Regions from separate parts of the Homo sapiens genome. Here regions 2 and 3 are each linked to region 1. Evidence: promoter capture Hi-C in 16 types of primary human blood cells and fetal thymus (Javierre and others, 2016). All regions are on one chromosome and are shown on one strand. The core of a region is centred on a gene start or on the middle of the fragment in contact, and the rest is flanking DNA. Distances in the headings are between cores, read along the strand shown. Region 1 holds the start of ATP11AUN (ATP11A upstream neighbor lncRNA). Region 2 overlaps ATP11A (ATPase phospholipid transporting 11A). Region 3 overlaps ATP11A (ATPase phospholipid transporting 11A).

Evidence for each region. Contacts are between HindIII fragments. The CHiCAGO score rates a contact against its expected background, and 5 or more counts as called.
Region 2: a fragment that was not itself captured here is called in contact with the fragment with the promoter of ATP11AUN in region 1 in 3 of 17 cell types (endothelial precursors, M0 macrophages and M2 macrophages); the score reaches 6.1 in endothelial precursors.
Region 3: a contact is called between a fragment that was not itself captured here and the fragment with the promoter of ATP11AUN in region 1, in 1 of 17 cell types (endothelial precursors). The highest score is 8.2, in endothelial precursors.

The regions. Positions count from the first base shown.
Region 1 is chr13:112,645,252-112,649,375 of GRCh38, forward strand. ATP11AUN (ATP11A upstream neighbor lncRNA) reads left to right here and starts at 1,793. Exons shown (of 3, transcript NR_164109.1): 1 at 1,793-2,347. RefSeq lists an enhancer at 2,499-3,393. The HindIII fragment of the contact is 10,476 bases long and covers 1-4,124 here.
Region 2 is chr13:112,840,459-112,844,392 of GRCh38, forward strand. It overlaps ATP11A (ATPase phospholipid transporting 11A), which reads left to right. Exons shown (of 30, transcript NM_015205.3): 17 at 1,818-1,921. Among named protein-coding and RNA genes, the nearest start is that of ATP11A-AS1, 88 kb to the left of the region's middle. The HindIII fragment of the contact is 661 bases long and covers 1,705-2,365 here.
Region 3 is chr13:112,858,370-112,862,742 of GRCh38, forward strand. ATP11A (ATPase phospholipid transporting 11A) reads left to right here. Exons shown (of 30, transcript NM_015205.3): 23 at 1,024-1,083; 24 at 1,918-2,045; 25 at 4,071-4,206. Among named protein-coding and RNA genes, the nearest start is that of ATP11A-AS1, 110 kb to the left of the region's middle. The HindIII fragment of the contact is 744 bases long and covers 879-1,622 here.

The DNA of each region.
Region 1 (4,124 bases), core at 543-3,042:
GACACACACACACACACACACACACACACACACACACACACACACACACGGGAGACCAGCAAGTGACGTTCAAGGCAGAGGCTGGAGCGATGTGTCCACCAACCAGAGGACACCGAGGATGGCGAGGATGGCGAGGACAGTGAGGATGGTGAGGATGGCGAGGACACCGAGGACGGCGAGGACACCGAGGACGGCGAGGACGGCGAGGACGGCGAGGATGGCGAGGATGGCGAGGACACTGAGGATGGCGAGGATGGCGAGGACGGTGAGGACGGCGAGGACGGCGAGGATGGCGAGGACACAGAGGACGGTGAGCATGGCGAGGACGGCGAGGATGGCGAGGACGGCGAGGACGGCGAGGACGGCGAGGACACCGAGGATGGCGAGGACGGCGAGGACGGTGAGGACGGCGAGGATGGCGAGGATGGCAAGGATGGCTGGCAGCCAGCAGGGGCTGGGAGAGGGGTGAAGGGTCTTCCCCAGAGCCTGCCAAGGGGGCATGTTTCTGCCTACACTTTGACCTTGGGCATTCGGTCCCCAGAACGGTGAGAGAACGCACTTCTGTTGTGTATACTATGCAGTGTGTGACACTTTGTTACGGCAGTCCTAGGACATGAACTCAGGAGGCGTCAGTGACTGGCCAGGGTGTCCTTTCCAAGAAGGTTTTAAAGCAGGACAGTGTCTCAGCTCAGGAGGAAACATCTAAAATGGTGAAGGCGTCGGACCAGCTACTCAGCAGGTAGAAATCATATCTCAGAATGCAAGAAGAGAATTTGAGAAAACTGCTTTGATCTGCAGGTTTTGAAGGAACGGTGGGCATTTTGATGTCACTTTTCTGAGCAATTGTGCTCAAGGCGACCATGTAGACATGGGAAGGCATAACTGTCTGTTTCTAAGCACTGCTGGTAACAGACACCCCTGATCAGACAACCCGATCATTCCTCATCCCAGACCTCCCCCTTTTCCCTGCTAAGGAGATGCTGGCCAGGGAAGAGGCGAATTCACTCAATAATTCAGCAAAATAACTCGATGACTTTTTTTTTTTTTGAGACGGAGTCTCACTCTGTCACCCAGGCTGGAGTGCAATGGTGCCGGCTCGGCTCACTGCAACCTCCACTGCCTCCCAGGTTGAAGTGATTCTCCTGCCTCAGCCTCCTGAGTAGCTGGGACTACAGGAGCCCGTCACCACGGCTGGCTAATTTTTGTATTTTTAGTAGAGACAGGGTTTCACCATGTTGGCCAGGCTGGTCTGGAACTCCTGACCTCAGGTGATCTGCCCACGTCGGCCTCCTAAAGTGATTTAAAAAGGAAATATTCCCTCCTCCCCACTTTCATCTGGTTGTTCACATACTAATTCTGAGAAACACAGCCATTGCACTTTGATACTAATTATTCCATTTCTTACAATCTTTAACCAATACTCTGACAAATTGTTAATTTAAGAAGAATTTGCAAAGCAAGTAACCCTACTATGTTTTTTAAAAGGCAGACAAGAAAAGAGTGTGTGAAAGTGTCTCTTACTGTAACCTGCCCTGGAAGGGTAAGCCTTTTAAAATCACAGCCTAACACACCTGAATTCTGCATCGAGAACTTCAGCTTTCTGTGGTGTGTGACCGTATAATACAAGCTACATATGGTGGTGACCTACCAGTTTGGGTTGAATTAAATATTGAAAGCAAACTCCAGAAATATCTAAAAGGAAACACACCAGCAATATTGTATTGATTGTGGTAGGCTGCTTAATAATTAATTCCCTCACCTCAGTTTTTGAATGTTGTTCTGTTTATGCCTCAGTATCAAAAACAACTGAGAAAGGGGCCGCAGCTCCGGCCTTCATCTGCTATTGCAAATTCGGAGCAGGGTGCTACTGGGGGGTGGGGGAGTAAAGAGAACGGGCCCTTTCTTCGTGTGTCCACTTCGTAGGAACCCAGGCAAGAGTACCCAAGCAGACCTCTGCTTAAAGCAAAAACAGACTGAAGTTGTTTTCCCCTCAACACGGTGACCATCCCCAGGTTTAGCAGAGAGAATCTAAACAATGACCCTTGCAAACACAGCAAGGATACCGACAAACGCTGGAAAGCTCAGCTGTGGAGTTTTAGTCGTGGCTGAGTTTAGGTGGCCTTGCTTCAACGCCATCAGGGTTTTGAACACCGTCGGGGGGAAGACGCCAGTCTGCTCAAGTGGTGCCCAAACCAGAAATGCCAGTGTCATGTCCACGTTTCCGCTTCTTCGGAGAAGGGACCTGTCTCACACGTCCAGCCAGAGCTTCTGAGCTGGAGATGCAACCCTGCGACAGAGAAGCCCTGGTTTGTAATCATACCGAGCTTGGGCAAGGAGGCCGGAAAAGGTAGGTTCTATGTCTTGGGTGGGGCCTTGCTTAATTCTTTTTTGTTGTTGTTGTAGTTTTGAGATGGAGTTCCACTCTTTCACCCAGGCTGGAGCGCAATGGCACGATCTTGGCTCACTGCAACCTCCACCTCCTGAGTTCCAGTGATTCTCCTGTCTCAGCCTCCCAAGTAGCTGGGATTACAGGCATGCGCCACCATGACCGGCTAATTGTTGTATTTTTTAGTAGAGACAGGGTTTCACCATGTTGGCCAGGCTTATCTCAAACTCATGACCTCATGATCCGCTTGCCTCAGCCTCCCAGAGTAGTGGGATTACAGGCGTGAGCCACCGTGCCACGCCTCCTTGCTTAATTCTTAAAAGGCCTGATTGAGTTACGGATTTAACAACTGAATTCGTGAAAATAATCTCACTGGAAGGATTTTGCCAACAGGAAGAGTTCGGGATTGTTCATGGGCATTTTTTGTTTTGTTTTGTTTTCCTCATCACATGCAAAGCCTTCCTTGTTCCACCCACAGATGGGAGATGGAGACGAGTCTTTTCCTGACCAGGTTGTCAAGGCTCACGGGGGGCACACAGACCCTTCGGTCAGCTCCTACCTGCAGCCGGGAGCGGTACTGAGTGCCCAGCTTCAGGTTTCACGGATCTCGCAATGATCCTGACAGGCGCAGCAGCAGGGGGCCCAAGCAGGGTGGTGACTGCCCTGGGGGGCTCAGATAAAGCCAGCAGCACAGGAAAGCACAGCAGGGGCGGGTTTGTAAAGCAAGGGTGATGGTGAGGGGAGGGTTACCACATGGAGCCTGGGGCCGGGCCAGGCAGGAGAAAGAGGGCCTCATTCTGTTTTTCTAACCTTTGTTAGTTTCAGGTTTTAAGTACTGTGAGTATTCAAATTTGGGCTCCTTGCATTACCTGGTTTATGCAGGTAGAATGTAGAATACTATATATTAGGCCAAAAGACCAGTGAAAGCAACATTTCCTACATTTACTCTTTTTTTTTTTTTTTTTTTTTGAGACAGAGTCTCACTCTGTCGCTCAGGCTGAAGTGCAGTAGCGTGATCTCGGCTCACTGCAACCTCTGCCTCCTGGGTTCAAGCAATTCTCCCCCCTCAGCCTCCCGAGTAGCTGGGATTACAGGTACGTGCCACCACGCCTGGCTAATTTTTGTATTTTTAGTAGAGATGGGGTTTACCATGTTAGTCAGGCTGGTCTCGAACTCCTGACCTCACGTGATCCACCTGCCTCGGCCTCACAAAGTGCTGGGATTACAGGGTGAGCCACCACACCTGGCCTCGTCCATTCAATCATTCGTCCATTCAATTCATATTTCTCAAGCACCATCTAAGAGCCGAGCCCTGTACTGGGCCCTGGGTGTGTGGGAAGCTCCACATAGAGCTGCGCTGAGTCCGGTCCTTCCCGGGGCCGCCGCTGGGATTGGTCAGTGCTGCCTCCCACGCGATGCTGTCTCATCGGCGTACCTCCGAGAACACACTGGGTTCTCTTGGCTTTGTGCTGGGAGTCCCGTCATTTGATAACTGACATTGATAACTCGCGTAGGCACCCGAGACTCTACTTCACTGGCTGACATCGCTGATCTAAAATTGGGCGCGCGCCCACTCACTCCCGAGACCGCCCAGTTCCTACATCTTGCTGCAAGAGGCCATTTGGTCTGGGGCAAGGTGGCCTCTGGGTAGCCAGCCTCCACTTCAGCACAGCGTCTGCGAGGTTCAGAAATGCTCACTTCTCTCCAGAAGGCAGGGTGGGGTCCTTGCCACGGTGGG
Region 2 (3,934 bases), core at 785-3,284, 200 kb after region 1:
CCCCAGCCTCAGCCTCCCTACTCTCCTGTCCCCTCCAGCCTCAGCCTCCCCACTTTCTCATCCCCCCCCAGCCTCAGCCTCCCTACTCTCCTGTCCCCTCCAGCCTCAGCCTCCGTCCTCCCCCATGCCCTCCAGCCTTTGCTCGGCACTGGTTTGCTGCATGTATTGGCAACACCTGTGTCACCAGGTGCCATCCTCTCTGGCTGCAGGTTGGCAGCCACCTCAGCCACATGAGCGTCAAGTGTAGCCATGTTCCCACAGCTTCCCTGTTGGTGTCTCAGGAGTTAGTGCTTCCTGGCATCCAGGAAGGAAGGCAAGGCGGACCCCTGTTCCTACTCCTGAGTCCTCGTCCAAGCTCCAGGCCTTGGATCCGGGTCGTCAGCCCGAGAGCGTCCCCTCCCCATGTCCCTCCCACCACCACCCTGGGGACCACTGCCTGCCCACTCTGGGGCCCTCTGGATTTGGTCCCCAGTAGACTTCCCGAGGGCCCTCAGTGTCTGGGGGTCTCAGGGCTCTGCCCCGCCAGGAGCTGGGCATGGAGCTTCCTACGCGTGCCGCTCAGGCTGCTGTGGTGTTTCTCCCACCCTGCCGTCACCGCGCCGTAGCACGGCGTTTCCCTGCACCCAGGCACAAACCAGCCGCCTGGCAGAGTGCCACGTGGCTTCGCGGACCAGGGATGCTTCAGGTGCAGAGGGAGCTCTGTGTGTCGGGAGCACCTGCGCCCAGGCACAAACCAGCCGCCTGGCAGAGTGCCACGTGGCTTCGCGGACCACGGATGCTTCAGGTGCAGAGGGGGCTCTGTGTGTCGGGAGCACCTGCGCCCAGGCACAAACCAGCCGCCTGGCAGAGTGCCACGTGGCTTCGCGGACCAGGGATGCTTCAGGTGTAGAGGGGGCTCTGTGTGTCGGGAGCACCTGCGCCCAGGCACAAACCAGCCGCCTGGCAGAGTGCCACGTGGCTTCGCCGTCCAGGGATGCTTCAGGTGCAGAGGGGGCTCTGTGTGTCGGGAGCACCTGCGCCCAGGCACAAACCAGCCGCCTGGCAGAGTGCCACGTGGCTTGGTGGACCAGGGATACTTCAGGTGCAGAGGGGGCTCTGTGTGTCGGGAGCACCTGCGCCCAGGCACAAACTAGCCACCTGGCAGAGTGCCACGTGGCTTCGCCGTCCAGGGATGCTTCAGGTGCAGAGGGGGCTCTGTGTGTCAGGAGCAGGTGACATCACAGCAGAACTGTCGTGGCCTTTGCTGTATGCTGCAGTGCCTGGAAGAGAAACTCGCTTTATCTGAGGCCTGAGAAGCCCACGTTCACAGCACAAGTATGTCCACAGCGATCACAGTGTTACTGGACGTGTGGGAAAAAATGACGCAAACGTTTCCCCTGACTCTTCCAAGTTCAGAGGTGGCCCGGCTGCCTTGCTCTGCATGAGGACAGATGACTCTCCGAAGGGGATTTGTGTTCACCTTCCAGCATTTCAGAAACCAGGACCCCCTTTGGGTCACCCCAACGCCCGTCCCGAGGGCATTTTGTCCCCTTTCGTGTCTTTCCCAGAGAAAAAACAGAGTCCCGGAGCCAAGTTCTTTTCCTCGTTCCTGCCTCTCCTGTGGAATTTCTAGGGTGTAGGAATAAAACGAGGCTTTGGAGGTTATCTGTGGGTTTATTTTTTCCTGACTGTAGCGTGTTAACTGGTCCATTAAAATCTTTAAAAAGCTTTCCACACTGCTATCCCTGTTTTTTGTTTTTTAATAATGGCATAATTTTAAAAAATAATCTAGTCTTCCCCATATTGTGATTAAACTCCTCATTTTTCTCATTTTGTAGGAGAAATTTATCTGTTTTGCAAAGGAGCAGATTCTTCGATATTCCCCCGAGTGATAGAAGGCAAAGTTGACCAGATCCGAGCCAGAGTGGAGCGTAACGCAGTGGTGAGAGCCGGGCTGGGGAGGGCCTCGTGGCGGTCAGCTCCCCTGCTGTCAGGAAGGAATTCCATGTTCCACAAGTTCCTGGCTGGGAATGGCGTATTGTATTCCTTGGGGAATGTTTAGAAATCAGCTGGGCCAGAGGCAGACAGACAGGCAGCCTCAGCCGGCACCGACCCCAGGGGGCCTCCGATACCCAGCCAGGCACAGGCTGTCCAGCCAGGCACAGGCCATCTCCTCCCCAGCCTTGCACAGGGTTTTATTTTCGGGTGGGTGCCAGGTTGGTTGATTGATGTTTTGGGGAGTCAGAATTAGCACGTTTGTGGTTATTGTATTGGAGCAAAAAGTCTTTGTGTTGACGTTTCTAGTGATTTGCTTCAAAACAAATCAGCACTTTCGTTTTCTGTTGTGACATCACCTGTTTGGGTTTCTTTCCCCATCTGGGTCTTAAGCTTGTATGATAAGGTTTCTTTCCACCACTTGTTGTATAGCACCGCCCAGCAGCCCGCACACCTGAGCCTCCCACTCCGTGGGTCCGGCTTTCTGTCTTTGGGGCTGCTGCGGTAGGGGGCCGGCCTGAGTGTCTCTCACAGCAGGGCCTCCCCTCCCCGTCAGACGCGCTAAAGCCGGGCAACACGTGGCTGGGGTGGACACGCTCCCTCCTGTCAGACACCTTAACTCCGGGTGATGCGTGGCTGGGTGGACATGCTCCCTCCTGTGAGAGGTCCTAACGCCGAGCGACGCATGGTTGGGTGGACGTGCTCTCTCCCGTCAGATGTCCTAACGCCGAGTGACGCACGGCTGAGTGCACATGCTCCCTCCTGTGAGATGCCCTAAAGCTACACTGTGCGTGGCTGGGGTGGACGCACTCCCTCCTGTCAGACGTCCTAAAGCTGGGTGACGCATGGCCGGGTGGGCGCGTTCCCTCCCATCAGATGCCCTAACGTTGGGTGATGCGTGGCTGGGTGGACGCGCTCCCTCTGCTCCCCACGTGGCTGCTTTGTCCCACGGTGTCTGCACCCTTCTCCCGACACCACCCTGGGGTCTTCTCCCTCACTCCAGCCCAGGGCAGCACCTCCTCTCACACCGACCTTATCATCTTTTCATGAAAAAGAAACAGTAACTGACAGGCTCTCCTCCCAGAGGTCCAAAATGACGCTGGCCAGAGTGGCTACGCACTGGAAAACAAGACTTCCAAGGCTGGCTCTGCACCAAGGAAGGCTGAACCGAGAGAACCTTGGACTAGAGGTCGTGGTACTCAGCGCTCCCTTCACTGACCATTTAAATGTAAAGCAATGTTTGTCCTCGCTGTCAGTCGCAACACTTGATTACTGTAGATGTCAGAGCATTAAGAATTCCTGCCGATGGACAGGAGCCCTTTCGCTCGCGAGCCCGTGCGTGCAGCAGCCAGAGCCTGTGAACTTCGTGGAATGCTGTCGACGTGCGGATCATCATCTTTACGTTGCTATTAAAACAGCTCCTGGCACTACAAAGTAGCTGCGTTGGAGCCAACAGGAATCCATAAATCAGCAGCAGGTTAAAGATTGTTGAACTTCTCTGTGAGGGATCTGGAAAATACATCACTGACTTCCACCAGCCACAGAGCTGCAGGGTGGGAGCCGAGCGGGTTCCTCTGAGCAGCACAAGCGTCCTGCGCTTCGACACACAATGAGCCTCAGTACAGGGGCGTGTGGGGGCTCCTGAGGGGGCAGCTCCATCTGCAGCTCGCTTTCCAATAGCGCGAGGCTGTGCTTTGCTGTGACGTGGTCGCCGTGCCATGCTGAGCACACGATGGCTACAGGTCACAGGTGACTGGTCCTCCATGGAGGGTCTTCATGGCCTGAGTACCAAATATCTTCCACCTGCTGGATCCCCACTGCTGCTGCCCAGGAGAGTAGGCGCATGGATTATGTGAATTGTGATGATTGTAAAGTCCACTTGCTGCTTGTTTCAGAAAGTCTTCTTGAGATGTAATTGCCATACATTGATCTATACATATTTAAAATGCGAGAGCAGCAA
Region 3 (4,373 bases), core at 1-2,500, 210 kb after region 1:
GATGCCACAAGAGGTCATTGATCTCCGAGGAGCAGCAACTGTCAGAAAGGAAGGGGTGAATCTGATTGCAGTCATCTCTTGCTTAGCTGTGACTTTGCTTTTTACAGTTTCCATTACCTACAGTCAACCCATGCCCAAAAATATCAAACGCAAAATTGCAGAAATAAACAGTTCCTCAGGTTTAAATTGCATGCCATTCCGAGCAGCGTGATGAAGTCTCACGCCGTCCTGCTGTCTCCTTCCTGGGATGTGGCTTGTCCCTTTGTCCGGTGTGCCGATGCTGTGTGTACACTACCTGCCCCTCAGTCACTCTGTAGCTGTCTTGGTGATGAGGTTGACAGATCACAAGAAGAAGGGTGAATATGACACAATAATATATTTTAAGAGGAGGAGGGAGAGACCAAATTCATGTAACTTTGATTACGGTATATTATTATAGTTATTCTATGTTTTGTTGTTACTCTTTCACTGCACCTACTTTATAAATTAAACTTTATCATGGGTGTGTATGTATACGAACACACATACCCATCTAGAGCATAGACAGGGTTCAGGACCATCCGCAGACTCTGCATCCCCCCAGGGTCTGGGAATGTACCCCTGAGGATGAGGAGGGCCTGCCGTGCCGCGGGAGGAGACCCCCAGCCCTTTTCTCCCCCCACAGAATTGAGTGTGGAACCAGTGAGAACCTTTCAGGTGGAAATGTTTGAGGAAGGATTCCTTATTCACTGTGCAGTTCGATTCTTTCCCGTTTATACTGATACCTGCATTGCCTTCTTGTTTCTCTTGGAGCTGACAAATTTCCTCTATACGTTGTCTGTCCTGAGTGGCCAAAACGTGGTCACATGTGCATTTCAGTTGCCCCTGAAATAAGAGAAAGCTTTCTAGAACCCATTAGTGCTGTTCTGCCGCACGCTGGGTGCACGTGGATCCCTCCTCCCATGTGGGGTGGGCCACGTCGGTAGGTGGCGGCTGCCTCCCTCTGTCCCGTCACCGAACTAACAGTTATGCCTTGCCTTTCAGAACGTCTGCTTCATCTTCCCTCAGTTTTTATACCAGTTCTTCTGTGGGTTTTCACAACAGGTCAGTCCTAGGGTCTTCAGGGACAGGCTGTCTGAGCCTTCTTTTCCTTCCCGCAGTGGGTGGCTGCTGTGGGGAGGGGAGACTTGGGAATGAGCAGCACTCCCCGGCACCACGAGGGAGCCAGGGTGCCCAGCAGCAGGCGGGGGTGAAGGGTCGGGCCTGGGGAGGGGGGCCACGGAGCTGAGGAGTTGCCGTCCTGGAGGCCCCTTGTTCCATGTCTTCTGAAACTGCCGTGGCCCTGAGATGCGGGCCAGTGATGATGTGGTCTCCTCAGGGCCCAGCAGTGCTGGGCTGGGCATCCTGATGCCACTGCAAGAATTAACTCCAACTCGAGGTCCTTGTGGACATGGGCCACCCCGGTGCCTGGCACGTTAACACATGCAACGTGCCCATAGGGGAAGAAGACAGTTCCCATCCGGGAGGGGTGAAGGACTCCCCGGGCATCTGCCCTAGATGGACACCTCCTTCTGTCACATGTGTGCTCAGTGGTTGGCGGGCCAGCTGCCTTCATGGGAAGTGACTGCGACCAGAGTCACTGAAGCTTGAAGATGGCAATCAGAATTGCAAATGTTTTCTGTGACTTTTTTCCTTTTTTTTTTTTTTCTTGAAGTTTGTGCTGATAGAATGGGATGAGTCAGTGTTAGGCTTTTTGCCAGCTGTGACTTTCATCCTGAAATCACAGTTGATATCACAGACCCTAGTTTATATTGTTAAGCTTTGAAAAGCGCTCTGGTCTTTCTATGCATTTCAGAAAGAAAATATATTTAATCAAAAGATCCAAAAAGTTTGTAACAATGCACTGAGGTGCCACTTCTTGTGACTTTCCTCTTACAGACTTTGTACGACACCGCGTATCTGACCCTCTACAACATCAGCTTCACCTCCCTCCCCATCCTCCTGTACAGCCTCATGGAGCAGCATGTTGGCATTGACGTGCTCAAGAGAGACCCGACCCTGTACAGGTACCATCCTCCAAACAGCCTCTCCTGAGAGCAGAGAGAGTAACTAGGCAGCACTCTGGCAGTTCCTTCCAATAGCCACCTGGCAGACCTCAGTTGAGGGCCAGAAGCATTCGGCATCTGCTGATATTCTTGCTTGATCAGGAGCTTGTTTAAACTGGAAGCAACATAGCTCAAATGGAGATTCTTCAAGTCTTGCTGGATGGTTTATGCTGCATTTGGAACATCTGTGTGGAGCCAGTTTGCACTTTCCTGTGCTTTCTGACAGTCCTGAGGGAGCTGGGGTACAAGCGTCTTCCTCGTTGTGACCCTAGGGAATCTGTGGCCTAAGTTATCCTTTAAAACCATGTGTGTTCCATTCAGTGAGAAAAAACAAAAATTAACAGCTCTGGTTTCAGGGTGTCTTTTCTCCCCGTTATTTTTTAAAAATAATATGGAAGAGATATTTTTCTGCTATTTCAGAAATGCCCCCCAAGGTCTCTGGCAGATTCAATATGTTACTGTTTTCCATGGTCTTTTAAATTGTATTAGTCCATTTTCATCCTGCTGTGAAGACATACCTGAGACTGGGTAATTTATGAAGGAAGGAGGTTTAATGGACTCACAGTTCCACATGGCTGGGGAGGCCTCACAATCATGGCGGAAGGCATGAGGAGCAAAGGCACGTCTTACATGGTGGCAGACAGGAGAGCGTGTGCAGGAGAACTTTCCTTTATAAAACCATCAGATATCGTGAGACTTAGTCACTATTACGAGAACAACATGGGAAAAAACCACCCCCATGACTCAATCACTGCCCACCAGGTCCCTCCCATGATGCGTGGGGATCATAGGTGCTACAATTCAAGACGAGATTTGGGTGAGGACACAGCCAAACCCTATCATAAATTAAAATTTTATTTTTCAGATAATTTTACATCCATATGCAGTTGTAAGAAATAATAGATTCTGTGGGCCCTGATCCCATGTCCCTTAGTGGTGACACGCAAGAAACTGCAGTCCAGCATCACATCCAGTGTACTGATGTTGGTGCCGTTCACCCGTTCCCTTATTCAGATCACCCAGCTTTCCCTGCACTTACGTACATGTGTGTACATGACACGTGTATGTGTGTGTTCAATTCTGTGCAGTCTTCTCACATGCGTGTTTCCTGCATCCACCACCATAGCCAAGACCACTCACTTCCCTGCCTGGGATTCTGCAGGAATCCGTGCATCGGCCTCACTGCCCTCATCAGAATATTTAGCCATTCTGTGGGATCTTGACGGCTTGGATCCAAAAGTAATCACTGTAGGTGATTAAGGACGATGATAAAAAGGCAAACTTCTGAGTTGGTTGTACATCTTTAATAAATCTAAAGAAAATGGGAATAAATCTAAGAAAATGGGAGAAGATATACTGTTCTAGACATGTGTCTGAAAGGAATCCTGCAAATTCTGTCTTATTGAACAGGCATCTTTAATAAATCTAAAGAAAATGGGAATAAATCTAAGAAAATGGGAGAAGATATACTGTTCTAGACATGTGTCTGAAAGGAATCCTGCAAATTCTGTCTTATTGAACAGGCATAAGGTGTCACGTCAGGCGTAAGGTGTCACAGCAGGCGTAAGGCGTCACGTCAGGCGTAAGGTGTCACAGCAGGCGTAAGGCATCACGTCAGGCGTAAGGCGTCACGTCAGGCGTAAGGTGTCACAAGCTCGGTGAACGTCAGGGGTGTGCCTTGTGTTCTCTGTTCGTTGCTTTCAGAAGCAGCAGCATGTGGCAGCATCTCTGTGCCTATGACGATATTGCAGTGAATATGAGAGAGAAAATATCTGAGCAAAAGTTAGCCAAGGACATGAGTGGGTAGTGAAATGCTGGTTGTGATGAACATGCCACATTTGTGGCCAGAGCACAAACTTGATGTTTACTGGCCGTGCACATCTTATCCCATGAAGACAACGTCCAGGGATGGCCACCCCAGAGCCTGGGGGAGGTGCCGGGCCCTGATTCTCGAGGACACACGCTGTGCACCTTTCTCCTCACCAGGGACGTCGCCAAGAATGCCCTGCTGCGCTGGCGCGTGTTCATCTACTGGACGCTCCTGGGACTGTTTGACGCACTGGTGTTCTTCTTTGGTGCTTATTTCGTGTTTGAAAATACAACTGTGACAAGCAACGGGCAGGTCAGTACAGAGCTCGATTGCGCTGACTTAGCTGCTTAGGAATAAAGCCTCCCAAGCCCATATGATGATTTTGCCAAAGCAGAATTCAGTGCAGCCCATGCAGCTTCCCAGCGGGGTCCATCACCACCTGCGCAGTAATTCAGTGCAGGCCACGCAGCTTCCCAGCG